Regions from separate parts of the Homo sapiens genome. Here regions 1 and 3 are each linked to region 2. Evidence: promoter capture Hi-C in 16 types of primary human blood cells and fetal thymus (Javierre and others, 2016). All regions are on one chromosome and are shown on one strand. The core of a region is centred on a gene start or on the middle of the fragment in contact, and the rest is flanking DNA. Distances in the headings are between cores, read along the strand shown.

What was found. The method cuts DNA at HindIII sites, captures the fragments that hold promoters and counts their contacts. A CHiCAGO score of 5 or more calls a contact.
Region 1: a fragment that was not itself captured here is called in contact with the fragment with the promoter of TMEM106C in region 2 in 1 of 17 cell types (fetal thymus); the score reaches 5.6 in fetal thymus.
Region 3: a fragment that was not itself captured here is called in contact with the fragment with the promoter of TMEM106C in region 2 in 1 of 17 cell types (naive B cells); the score reaches 5.1 in naive B cells.

What each region holds. Positions count from the first base shown.
Region 1 is chr12:48,142,499-48,146,531 of GRCh38, reverse strand. It overlaps PFKM (phosphofructokinase, muscle), which reads right to left. Exons shown (of 23, transcript NM_000289.6): 18 at 3,586-3,750; 19 at 2,718-2,779; 20 at 2,375-2,486; 21 at 1,402-1,501; 22 at 1,217-1,322; 23 at 128-968. The coding sequence ends at 824. Among named protein-coding and RNA genes, the nearest start is that of MIR6505, 12 kb to the right of the region's middle. RefSeq lists a silencer at 3,314-3,488 and an enhancer at 3,120-4,033. The HindIII fragment of the contact is 2,143 bases long and covers 533-2,675 here.
Region 2 is chr12:47,960,956-47,965,055 of GRCh38, reverse strand. It overlaps TMEM106C (transmembrane protein 106C), which reads right to left and starts at 1,460. Exons shown (of 8, transcript NM_001143842.2): 1 at 1,352-1,460; 2 at 633-847. The coding sequence starts at 819. The HindIII fragment of the contact is 3,638 bases long and covers 89-3,726 here.
Region 3 is chr12:48,122,909-48,126,907 of GRCh38, reverse strand. All of the region lies in intron 2 of PFKM (phosphofructokinase, muscle), which reads right to left. Among named protein-coding and RNA genes, the nearest start is that of PFKM, 5.5 kb to the right of the region's middle. The HindIII fragment of the contact is 5,681 bases long and covers 1-3,999 here.

The DNA.
Region 1 (4,033 bases), core at 355-2,854, 180 kb before region 2:
TTGAATAATATTGAAGGAGACATTATGTAATCAATCACCTTGAGCTCCAGTGTCCTCCTTTCTGAAGTCAGGCTGTCACCATTGCCCTCCAAAAGCTACTATGAGGATTCAATGATGAAATGCCTACCACAGTGCTTGATATTTATTGTTAATTTCTCTTCCCACTAAAGAACTGTGCAAAGAGTATTTGGCTGCCTTATTCCCTGACTCCAGCAACAAACCTTCTCAGTCACTATTTAGAACTGTTTTTAGAGTTTGGCAGTGACAATTTTTCAGACAGCCAGCAAGTAGTGTACTAGAGATAATCCCTTCCTCCACCCCCTGTGATACCCTTAACGTCTTTACTGCTTCATCAGACAAGTGTCTGATACATGGGGCTGACAGTATTACATTCCACTTAGGAAGATGATAACAGGAGAAGCAAAAGCACAGTGACCAGTTGGCATTTATTAGTGTAGTTACAATTTGTCACTGTAGTAAAAGTAGTAGAGGAACCAAGACTCTTTGTTATCACAAAGAAATAAATAAAGCTTATTTTTAGGAAAATTCTAACTGAGTAAGTGATATCTAGCAGTAGCACTAGAGGTGCCCAGCCTTGTGTGACAGATAAAGCTGGGGCAGAAGTCATGTTAAATTCTACCTAAAAGGAGCTCCCACCCACTGCCTGCTCCTCCAGCTCCTGGCCAGAACTGGTCATGGCTGCAAGGTACAGAATAAAAGGAAACCTAATGAAAAAAACAGCTAAAACACTGAGAAGATGTGGACTTATTAGGGTGTGAGCTGACCATGATCAGGTAATCTATTCCCCTCACTCCAGAGAGGTTTAGACGGCAGCTTCCCCGGACCGCTTCCGGGTGATGTGCTCCAGGTGGGCATGGTCTGAAGTGTCCAAGTCAATCTCGTACTTGGCTAGGATTTTGAGGATGGGCCTCAGTTTCAGCCACCACTGTTCCTTGGGGATTCGATGCCTACAGAGGAATGAGGTAGATGATGATATAATCTTTTAGCACCCCAATCAACTTCTACCAAAGGTTTATAGGAAGAAGTTAGACAGAAGAGGTTAGATTTAGGACATGTGCATCACATCTGAAATGGGTAAGAATACAGGTGTTACTCCTTAAAAAAAAAAAAGAATTAAAGACAGTGAACAGGTTGAGGACAGTAGAGCTTGAAACTACCAGGGAAAAGAACCACTCCAGGAAGCAGATGTACTCACTCAAAATCTGTCTGGTCCTTCAGCTCAGCCACTGGTTGGAAGACCAGAGCCCTCTTACGCATCCCCAGAACACAGCCCGAATCTGGAGTATTGGCAAAGATCCGCCCTGCAATGAGGGATGGGCAGTCAGCTTCTATACTGGGGAACCAGCCTCTATAGAGGGCACTCGCTCTCACCCCACCTACCATTACGGTAACTCTCTTTGATTTTCCCAGACATCCAGTTCATAGCCTTGGCGCCCATCTTAGTGGCAAAATTCCTATCAAATGGGGTTGGGCTCCCACCCTGGAGAAAGAAACATAAAAATTACAGAGGGAAGGACTCTAATGAAGTGGCAGAGATATCTAGACACACAGAGAAAAAAAGAAAGATGGGCCCCAGGCTTACAGCCCAAAACAGGAATCCAGAAGTCAAACTATGAAAGGGTGCCCTGAGGCAGTGCCAGGATCCAAGGCAAGCTGGCCCAGCAAATTTGGCCATGTATCAGATATAATAACAACTAATTAAAGATGATTGGCCCCACAATCCCCTCTTTTAGCTCCACAGCTGCCAGATCCTGTTTTAGTTTTATTGGCCAATGGGTCAGCTGCCTGCCCCTCTTCAGCCCAGCAGCTTTTGTTGATCACTGTCAATGATGACATAAAAGTGTTTTTTTTGTGGCCCAATCTGGCTGCCCTTGGTAGCACCTCAGAATTAATATAAAACATCATACAGATTTCCTTTGAATTAAGAGGAAGCAGGTGGGAAAGTGGGAATGTTTGGAGACATTTTTGTTACAATTGGGAGTGAGAGGGAGGTGCTACTGGCATCTAGTGGGTAGAGACCAGGGATGCTGTGCAACTGTCCTACAGTGCATAGAACAGCCACCCATGACAAATTATCATCCAGCCCCAAAAGGCAAAGCTGCCAAGGTTGAAAAGCCCTCCCATGAGGGCTTTTGAAAAGGATAGACCATATAATCTCTAAAGTCATTTCCAGGATAAAGATGTTTTGATTCTATGACTGTAAGAGACTGCAGGCCCATGCTCTATGATGGCACTGACAGGCTCCTCCAGAAGACTGGAAAAGGCCAGTGGAAGCCTCAGTGGCTGTTGGCAGGTATGGCTGTTGGCAGGTATGGCTGTCTGATGAAGGGCATGACTACGGTGTCTTCCCTACCTGCTGCATGTGACCAAGCACATTCTTCCTGCTGTCGAAGATGCCCTTCCCCTCCTCAGAGTACAGGTTGAAAATGAAGTCAGTGGTATAGTTCTCATTGCACTTTTCATTCCTGCCAGGTGGAGACCAAAAGCCTGTGACTCTGTGGTTGGCTTCCCATCCCCCATTTCTGCCTTTGTTCTTTCCTTTCAATTTTTATCTCCTCCAAGGATTCAAGGGATAGGCTGGCCCCCTCCCTTTATATCTACAGATTCCTCAGGGTGTCCCAACAATGGCCATTCTATGGGTTTGAGCCAAAGCTTATTTTTCTTCTTCATTTAGGAACAAACCATGGATGAGGTACCTTAACACCAAGCCCCTTTTCACAGTTGTTTTCATCTTTTGCACCAGATGTTCAACATTTGCCTGAAAATGAAAGAGTAAATCCTAAGCCTAACTGGGAATGGATAAGGTTGGGTATAAATCATCTTCCACACCACACCTCTCCAGGAAGGAAGAGACACATGGAAGAGAGTTGTTTACAATCCTGGGCCTGAACTGTGCCTAATTCCTGTAAGAAGCTCAGTGTGGACTGAAATTTAAACAATGACTCCAAATGAGACAGAACTGGAAGAGGGAGCACTACAGACAGCTGCAGTAACTGTCAGTGTTCAGCCCCTCACCCTCTCCAATCTCCCTTTCCAAGCCTTTCTGGTTCCCCTTGCCTCAGAGGGCTGACTTGTGGTCACAGTGTCAGTGTTGACACTTTATATCTCTGTTTTGAGAGAGTATCTCTCTCAAAAGCAGAATGACAGCAAGGGAAATCTGAAGGGGAGACATGATGTAGTAAAAAGATCACTGACTTTCTCAACCACTTAAACCATCTGCTCACTTAGGAGTTTAGAAAAGTTTTTTAACCTCTCTAAACTTTCTATGTTATATGGAGATAGTATCTTCTTTGCATGTCTATTGTGAAGATAAAATGCAAAAATGCCCATAAAGGGCTTAGCACCAGGTCGCCTGACTCAAAATCAGCATTCCAACAACAGTAGCTGCGGTCATGCATATGAGGTGACACCAGAGAATGCCTGCATAGTGCTCTTTCTGGTCTTCACAGGATTCTACAGACCAATCAGCTCGGTCCTCAACTTGAGCTCTCATAGTTCAGATCACTGTGGAAACAGTCTGGAGACAGGGGAGAGCTATCTAGCAGGCTCTGGGTGGCCAGCTACCTGCAGGTCTCGAATGGTGAAGGGCTCCTCAAAAATGTAGGCAGCATCGGCCCCAGCTGCCAGTCCAGCCATGGTAGCCAGGTAGCCACAGTAGCCACCCATAGTCTCAATGATAAACACCCGACGCTTGGTGCCAGCTGCTGACTGCTTGATGCGGTCACAGGTCTGCAAGGACAATGGGTTATAGTTAGAAAGACATGATCAGGGGCCTGATTCTTATCACTCTTTAATCTTTGCCATTAATTAAACCCTGGAACTATATTCTCCATAGGCTAGCAGGGCCCTTAGAGCTCATCAAGTTCTTGCATTTAGGGTAACAGGCATATTTGCCAACCTCACTGCAGAACGTCTCTCCTGGGAAGAAAGCTGTACCTATCCTTTCTACTGCTCAGAAAATTAGACTGCATGATCTCAGAAAGAAAAAAAAAAACAAACAAAACATTTGGTA
Region 2 (4,100 bases), core at 211-2,710:
GGGATCCTGTTCTGGCTTTACTGCATGGGCTTGGCAGAGTCGTCGAATCTCTCAAGGCCATGGTTTCCTTGCCTTTCATATGGAAGCTTTGGAGTAAATGATTTTGAAGGTCCTAACCAGCTCTAAATTTCTGTGACTCTCCAGCTAAACTGTTAAAGACTTTCTGAGGGCCAATTTGTTAATAGTAATAGATGATCCTGTACCAAGGCTAAGTATTTGTCTCTCTCTCTTGACCTGATATATTTTTCTGACCTTAGGCTGTTAAGGATTAGCTACCCATTTCCTTGAAAAGCAGCTTCCAAGATGGTTCCCCCGCAAAGCTGTCCCAATCCTTGTGACAGCGATAAAGAAATGTGCCTGTCAACAAATCCCACAACACAGAGCGAACTGAATGTTCCAAACCTCAGGAAAAGAACAAGAGTGGCGGTAAAGAAAAGAAAGGGTTGGAAAAATAAGGAGAGGAAGAGAAGTTGCAGAACTGCCCAAGTGTATTAAGTCAGTTGAGCTGGCTCCTGTCCAGGGCACTGTCTCTATTATGGTATTACTGCCTAGAAGAAAAGTTGTCTGGGCAGACAGGAGAACTCCGAGGGTACCTTGGGATTCTCATCAGGGAATCATCCCTCCATGATCACCTGTTGGAATGTAGCCTGTCCCCTGGCACGTGAGACAGGTGATGCTATCTCTCCCGGTGAATTCCACATATGGGAACTGAGCAATGGCTTCTTCCTGCTCTCGTTCAGCCAGCAAACCGTCCCTGTCATCTTCTTGCTTTCGCCTGCAGGAGGAGGGGCGAGCAGCAGCGGAATGCTGAGACCCCATGGCCGTGATATGCCACTGGTGTCATGTCCTAAGATGAAAAGAGGGAGTGCACGTTAGCGGCCCCAGTGAATCACGACAGAAATCGCTTGTTTCTATAAGAAAATTAAAAACGCAAAAATGACAAGTTGCCGCCCTGAGTGTGGTCCCAACACCTGTACGATTTCTATCGGGACCCTCATTTTGTAGTAGTGCTACCCACTCTCCTCTTACCCGCCACACACAGCCGGCGGGGGTGGGGAGGGGGAACGGGGCCTGCCTTTCACGCACCTGCCTCGATCCTCACCGCCCTGGGACTTGGGGCACCCCCGCTCCCACCTGGTCCAGCCTCGCCCCTTCCTCTTCACTATTTGTAAGCTCTATGCCCCTCCTCGAGCAACAAACAGGCACCAAATTGATAACCGGCCTTAACGATTCCCATTCCTCTCCACCCCCCAGCCCCAGGAGGCGGGCTCAGGTCACGCCCCTTGGCAAAAAGCGATGCTCTGAGCCCACCAAAGTGGCCCAGGCAGGAGCGAACGCCAGCGTCGCAGACCTGCAGGGCACGAACTCCCGGCAGCTCCTCTCCGGCCGCTCCCCCGACCACCTGCCAGCTTGAGGACTTACCAGCCTCTTCGGTCGGCGGAGCGGCACGCACTCAGCGCGCAGGCGCCAAATACCAAGCCCGCCAGGAGAACGCGGGCGCGCGCTCGCGCGTGCGCTCTTCGCGGCTCCGGAGGCCTTCCCAATATCGCAGCTGTCTGGCTCCCTCGGTTCCGGTAGAGGGCGGCAGAGAGCGCCGGGGAGCCGCGACCCTTGCTGTTGGGCCGCGGTAGTCCGCGGAGTCGGGATGATGCTCTGCTGTTCGCTAGATAGGCTGGGAAAGGCTCCAGTCAAGTTTCCAGAGCAAAACACTTCTCTGCTGCGAGAGGAGGAAGGTGCTGCCGGCTACCGAAGCCATTCTGAAATATTCTTTATAGTACAGGAGCTGTGTAGTCGCTGAGGGTACACACATGCGGAGCATTCGGATAAACTGCCTTTGCAAAAATTGTAAGTGAGAAAATTATGACAGTGAAAGAGATCTGACTTACCCAGTTCCGTCTTGCTTCTAACCTCCGAACTGCCCTTGTTCATTCCTGGGTATAGGCCAAACTAACTTTGGGAGGAATTTAGTTTATAGTTGAACTTCGAAGCAAAGATAACAGCCCTTCCCCAAAACAAACCCCCTTCTTGCCTGGGGACCAGACTGCCTTTGTAAGACTAACAAATTAGCCACAAGATTAGAAATTATGGTTTAGGAGTCATCCAGACAGAGGTCACAAGATTCCAAACCTTCCCTATTGCTCCAAGGGATAACATCACTATTGTAAAATCTAAGATCGGTGCTGGGGATATTTTTCAGACCCTGCATTCTGAGGCACCAGCTGGCAGTACCTAGACCAGTTATCTGGCTCAGCCAGTTCTGCAATCCCACCCAGGAACAGAAAACAGCAAGAAGAACCCACTTAGACCCCCCTATGATTTCATCTCCAACCTGACCAATCAGCACTCCCCACTGCCTGATACCTACCAGCCGAATTATCCTTAAAAAACCCCAGTCTCTGAATTATCGGGGAGACTTATTTGAGTGATAAAACTCTGGTATCTCATTCAGCCGGCTCTGCATGAATTAAAATCTCCATTGCAATTCCCCTGTCTTGATGAATCAGCTCTGGGCAACGGGCAAGGAGAACCCGTCCGGCAATTATATCAGAACCTGTCTTCAGTCCAGGAGGGGAACCCAGAGGCTTCATCAGACCCCTCCAATACTGTAGATAAAAGTGCTGCTGGAAGTCTCACAAGTCAGAGGGGCCCAGCCTGGGGGAAACCTTCCATGGGGAGTCCTGCTGGCTTCTCGCAGGAACGGACCCCACAGCTGAGCTTTGCAAGCCAATTAGGTGCCAAGAGGCACCAAGGAGTAGATTCATTCGGTAGTAGGGCCCCCCCTTCCCCAGACCTCCACAAAAAAGGCACGTACGTAAGAGGTTAGAAAGCACTTTTCGTTCGTTTGTTTGTTTGTTCGTTTGTTTTGAGATGGAGTCTTGCTCTGTCGACCAGGCTGGAGTACAGTGGCACAGTCTCAGCTCACTGCAACCTCCGCCTCCCGGGTTCAAGCGATTCTCCTGCCTCAGCCTCACAAGTAGCTGGGATTACAGGCGCACACCTCCACACCTGGCTAATTTTTGTATTTTTAGTGGAGACCGGGTCTCACCATGTTGACCAGGCTGGCCTCAAACCCCTGACCTCAGGTGATCTGCCCACCTTGGCCTCTCAAAGTGCTGGGATTACAGGCGTGAGCCACTGTGCCCGGCCTAGAGGGTACTTTTTAATGGGTGGGTTTCTTTGTTCATACTGCCAGGTTGAGCTTAGCCTGCAGCAGCAGGAGTTGAGTACAGACATTAACCAGGTGAAATTATTAAAGATGATGCTAGGGGAGAGGAGATATTCTGAAATGGGATGAATAAGGGGCCCACTTGGCAATAGAGAGTGAGGCTGAGGCTGGTGACCCCTCAGGTTTCTGCCACCTCTGTATTTTCCTCTTTCTCCTGTGGGGAATGCCAATGTACCTGCTGTTGTCTAGCCATCTGCCTGACCACTGGCCACAATCAGCCCACTGAGTCTTTAGTAAGAGGCAACAAGGACCCTCTACTTCCCCTCTCACATCTCTGATCCACCTCTTCTCCTTCTTGAAATGTTTTTTTTTTTTTCATCTGTTGGGTCACAGAAAACGATTCCCCAAAATATGGTGTTTGAGCATACGGAGTGCTTTTGAGAATTAAAAGAAAACAAGCCTCAGAATCAAGGTACCTCTAACCTTGTCTTGTTCCTCCGCTCAACCCCAAGCATAGGGGAAGACTCTCTCTGGAATTTCCTTGTCTCACCAAGAAAGCTTTTTTTTTTTTTTTTTGAGACAGGGTTTTGCTCTGTCGTCCAGGATCAAGTACAGTGGTGCCATCACAGCTCACTGAAGCCTCAAATTCTGGGGCTCAAGCAGTCCTCTGTGAAACAAAAATAAAGCTAAGTCTTCTCTACCCCCAGCCATCTGCATGGACCCCTCCTCTCAGCCAAGGGCATTCCAAAGTTAACCTGAAAAACTAGTTCAGGCCATGATGGGAAGGGGGAGTCAGACATGCCTCACTACCGTTGTGAAAGAAAAATAAATTTCAGGACCCCCAAATCATGAAGTCAAGGGAAAAGTCAAGCTGGAGACTATGTCAGGCAATTCTGCCTCCCATTTTATTTCTAAATAAGGTAGCTACAAAGAT
Region 3 (3,999 bases), core at 1,456-3,955, 160 kb before region 2:
GAAAGGAACAAGGTCAAAAGTCAACACAAAGCCTTCAATGCTTTAGGAAAGATGAATAAAGTTAGCTCAATAAGATCAGAATAGATATGAAACTAAAGTTTGTTTTCCAGTCTTTCACAAGGCCTATGGGATTCTCTTCTGGATACCTGGAGTTCTGGAGTATGAATTTGTAATTTCAGGAAATAAGGGAAAAAATTGTTCTGAAATGTATAGGTTGGAACATTGTTTCCTGTTCCCAAGCTGAGTAAATGGTCCTGTAAAAACTCTAACTTAATGCAATCCTGTTGGTATACCCAGGGTTAAGAGAGACAAGTGACTCCGAACGTTTTCAGTACAAAAGCAAACAACAGATGGTGGGCAGGGACTATCCAAATCTGTTGGGCATACAAAAAAAATCTCACAATAAGGAAATTCTCTTCTCCCTCTGCCTTCTTCTTACCTCAACTCTACCAACTTCCAGAAGTCATTCATCCTGTCTCCAACTTGAATATCTGAGTGTTTTCCTAGAAACCAAACTTTAGGATGCTCTTCATGTACCTGGTACCTATGCCTCAAACCCCTAGTTCCCTAAAAATCACAAACTTTGGGGTATACAAATAGTTTATATTAAGGAGCCCCGGTAATTCTTTGAGCTCTCCTAGCCAACCTGACTAGCTTAGTCTGGCCCCAAGCCAGTCCTGGCCAGAGTCTCCTTGGCTGTTCCATGTTGCCCTAAATAACCCTCCATGGCAGTTGTCTGACTTATTAGAAGCAAGACGAAGGATAAGATTACAGGCACCATCCAGTAGGTATTCTGGGTGTAGTCAGGAGGGGTTCTGGAGAACATCATAAGCACGTAGTTTGGAGTCTCCAATTACGGCATATTGGGAAGAGGTTTTAGAAAGAAGAACTGTGGGTAATGGGTCTCTATGAGACTAGACAGAAAAAAAATCTAATAAATGACTTGAGCATGACTTTAAAGCTGATACTAAATAATTTATTTCTGCCTTAACTTTCATAAGATTTTTAAAAATATATGAGGAATAAACATTTGTTAGAGATGAATTGCACTTCCTAATGGATATCATAAGTAAAAATTATAAACCTTAGAATAGCAAGCCAGAGAGGTAAAAGGATCTCTGTTCGTGCGAACCTTTAAAAATAGAAAAGGCCAGGTGTGGTGGCACATGGCCTGTGGTCTCAGCTACTTGAGAGGCTGAGGCAAGAGGATTGCTTGAGCCAGGAGTTCAAGACCAGCCTGGGCAACATAAAAAGATCCCTTCCCATCTTTTTTTTTTTTTTTTTTTGAGACAGAGTTTCACTCTTGTTGCCCAGGCTGGAGTGCAATGGTGTGATCTCGACTCACCGCAACCTCTGCCTCCCGGGTTCAAGCGATTCTCCTGCCTCAGCCTCCCAAGTGGCTGGGATTACAGGCATGCACCACCACGCCCAGCTAATTTTGTATTTTTAGTAGAGACGGGGTTTCTCCATGTTGGTCAGGCTGGTCTCGAACTCCCAACCTCGGGTGATCTGCCCGCCTCGGCCTCCCAAAGTCCTGGGATTACAGGTGTGAGCCACTGCACCTGGCCGATCCCGTCCCATCTCTTAAAAAAAAAAATCAAAAAGATAAACATACATTTGTAATGGCTGGCTATCTGGAGACAGAGGGCCAGAGCAGATGACTGACTGAGGTCCTTTCCAGGGGTAGAATATGCCGATGTCATAAGGCTAAAGGTAGCATAGTTTTGGCGGCTGAAGCCATTCCTAGGCTGGAAAGGGAATTAGGATTTGGTACGGCATCAGCCCAGCATCCCAGAGTTCTTTGTTTTTGAGCTCAGGATGTCTGATTCCTGGCCATTTTTCTACCTCAAGAGATGATTAGCTTTGCTGAATTTGGAGAATGACAAAGCTGTGACCTCTATGGATTTTACACAGCTCAATCTCACTTTCCCATGTGGCCCACAAGCCCTAAGGGAAAAAAAACAAAACAAAACATTTCTATGTTTTCTCCCCGGGAGAACTAGAGTCCATCAAACTCAGCTCTGGGCAGGCGACTTCTGAATTTGAGCTTCTCCTTCAGCTAGGACCTCTCAGCTCTATTTTGAGTTTTCTGTTTTGCCTCCTTGCCTCCATAGAATTTCAGTTTCTATCACTCTCAATCCCTAGTGACATGTGGCTGTGATGTTATGGGGATTTGCAGGTGGGCTATTTCCCTGGCTACACTGTGCCTATCAGCTGGGTCCTTCAGAAATCAGCTTATCTATAGTCCCTGCCTCCATAAAACAGGGTCTTTTTCTTACAGCAGTGAGTTATGGTCTTCACTAGAATAAGAGGGTCTCACTGCTCAGGATCAGAAGGTGGAAGGGCTCTGCTGCTCTGAGACCCAAGTTAAATCCTAGTCTGACCTTTCTTTCTCTCTTTCCCTCTCTAAAAAGCTCTTCTTCATTTTATAACTCTGTGCATCTCACTTGGTTTGTTTAGCAGGCTTTCTTCTTTCTTCCCCTAATCTGACAATCTGGGTCCACAGATCATTCTACCAAGGTTTCAGGATCAATGCTCAAGTACATGTTAAAGAATTCAGTATTGGCATGGTACTCTGCCAGCAGAGAAGACAGATGCAATAAAAGCCAGATCTGTGGTTTCTGCAAACTCAACTAGGGCTCTGCATTCCTAATCTGGTCACTATTCCTAAACTCAGACCTCCGTACCCTCCTTCCTCAGTTTCTTCATTCTAGCACTTTCTGATTCATAACCTATATCACAATTATAATAAATATTAGTTTAAAAAGTCTAGCTTTACTAATATACTAATAAGTATCATAAGAACAAAGATTGCGTCAGACTTTTTCACTGATGTATCACTGGTGAACCTCATCATCATCCTGATTGACACAGTAGATACTCACTAATTCATTTTTAATTAATGATCACATGTATTGAGTATTTACGATGTGCCTGCTACTGTTCTAAGCACCTTACTTAAATAAAGAGTTCAGTGTCTTGAAATCTACCTTCTCCATGAAGTTTTCACTGATTAATTCAATCAGAGGCTATCATTTCATTATGTAAGTAGATTCCACTTGGTTAATGCACACTTGCTTATTTTTATTTATGTGCCTTATGTAAGAATTCTAGTTTCCTCATTAAACTATAAATTCCTAAAGGAATTCAACTTCTTCAAAACATACAAGACAGGGCTCTATACAAAGTGGGTCCTTAGCGCAAAGTCTAAAAAAGCCTAGGAACAGTGGTGCAGAGGAGGGGAGCCTAGCTGAAATCGCTTTCCTTCTCTCTTTCTAATTGTCTCCATGTCATGTATCCTTTTCAAAGAAATTCTACCTCTTTTCAATGTATCAGAATATATCAGAAGATCAAAGGAGAAAAAGTTTTTTTTAAAAAAATCAATACCCTCTTACTCCCACTCCGTGTTTCCTATATACCTAATTTTCGTGACTCCCAGGTTTCTTAAATTCAACCTAGAAAAGGGTTTTTGCTGGCTCTGTTTTCTGCCCCTCCACCTCATACCGGATCTGTATTGATTAACTGCTGCTGTTCCTATTTGTTCAAGGGGTGATGAAAGGGAAGAGGAGGAAAGGCCAGAGAAAACCGAGTGCCTGACTGACCTTGGTCAGTGCAGGAACTCTCCAGACATCAGAGTTAATACCTGAAGACCTAGTTGGGACCCACCATATACTAATTCTGGGTCTCCTCCCATCCCCACCATTACCAAAGTACATGAAGTTAATCCACTTACTGCCTTCTCAATAACTTTATCTCTTTAGTTTCTTTCCAATGCTGCTTGAGAAAACACCACTCTTTTAGGTTCCCAAAGACCAAAAGAGCCCCCTGTCTTCAAAGAAACTTGGAAATAAGTTTTATGAAGATGTGGGTAAATAAACGCATGGCAAATAAAATTCAAATGCACTTGAGGACTTAGGCCTCACAGAAATTTTTAGCAAAGCCCAAAATTCCCGTGAACCTACAGAAGAATAATTCTATTGTATAGGCTAAGGGAGTCAG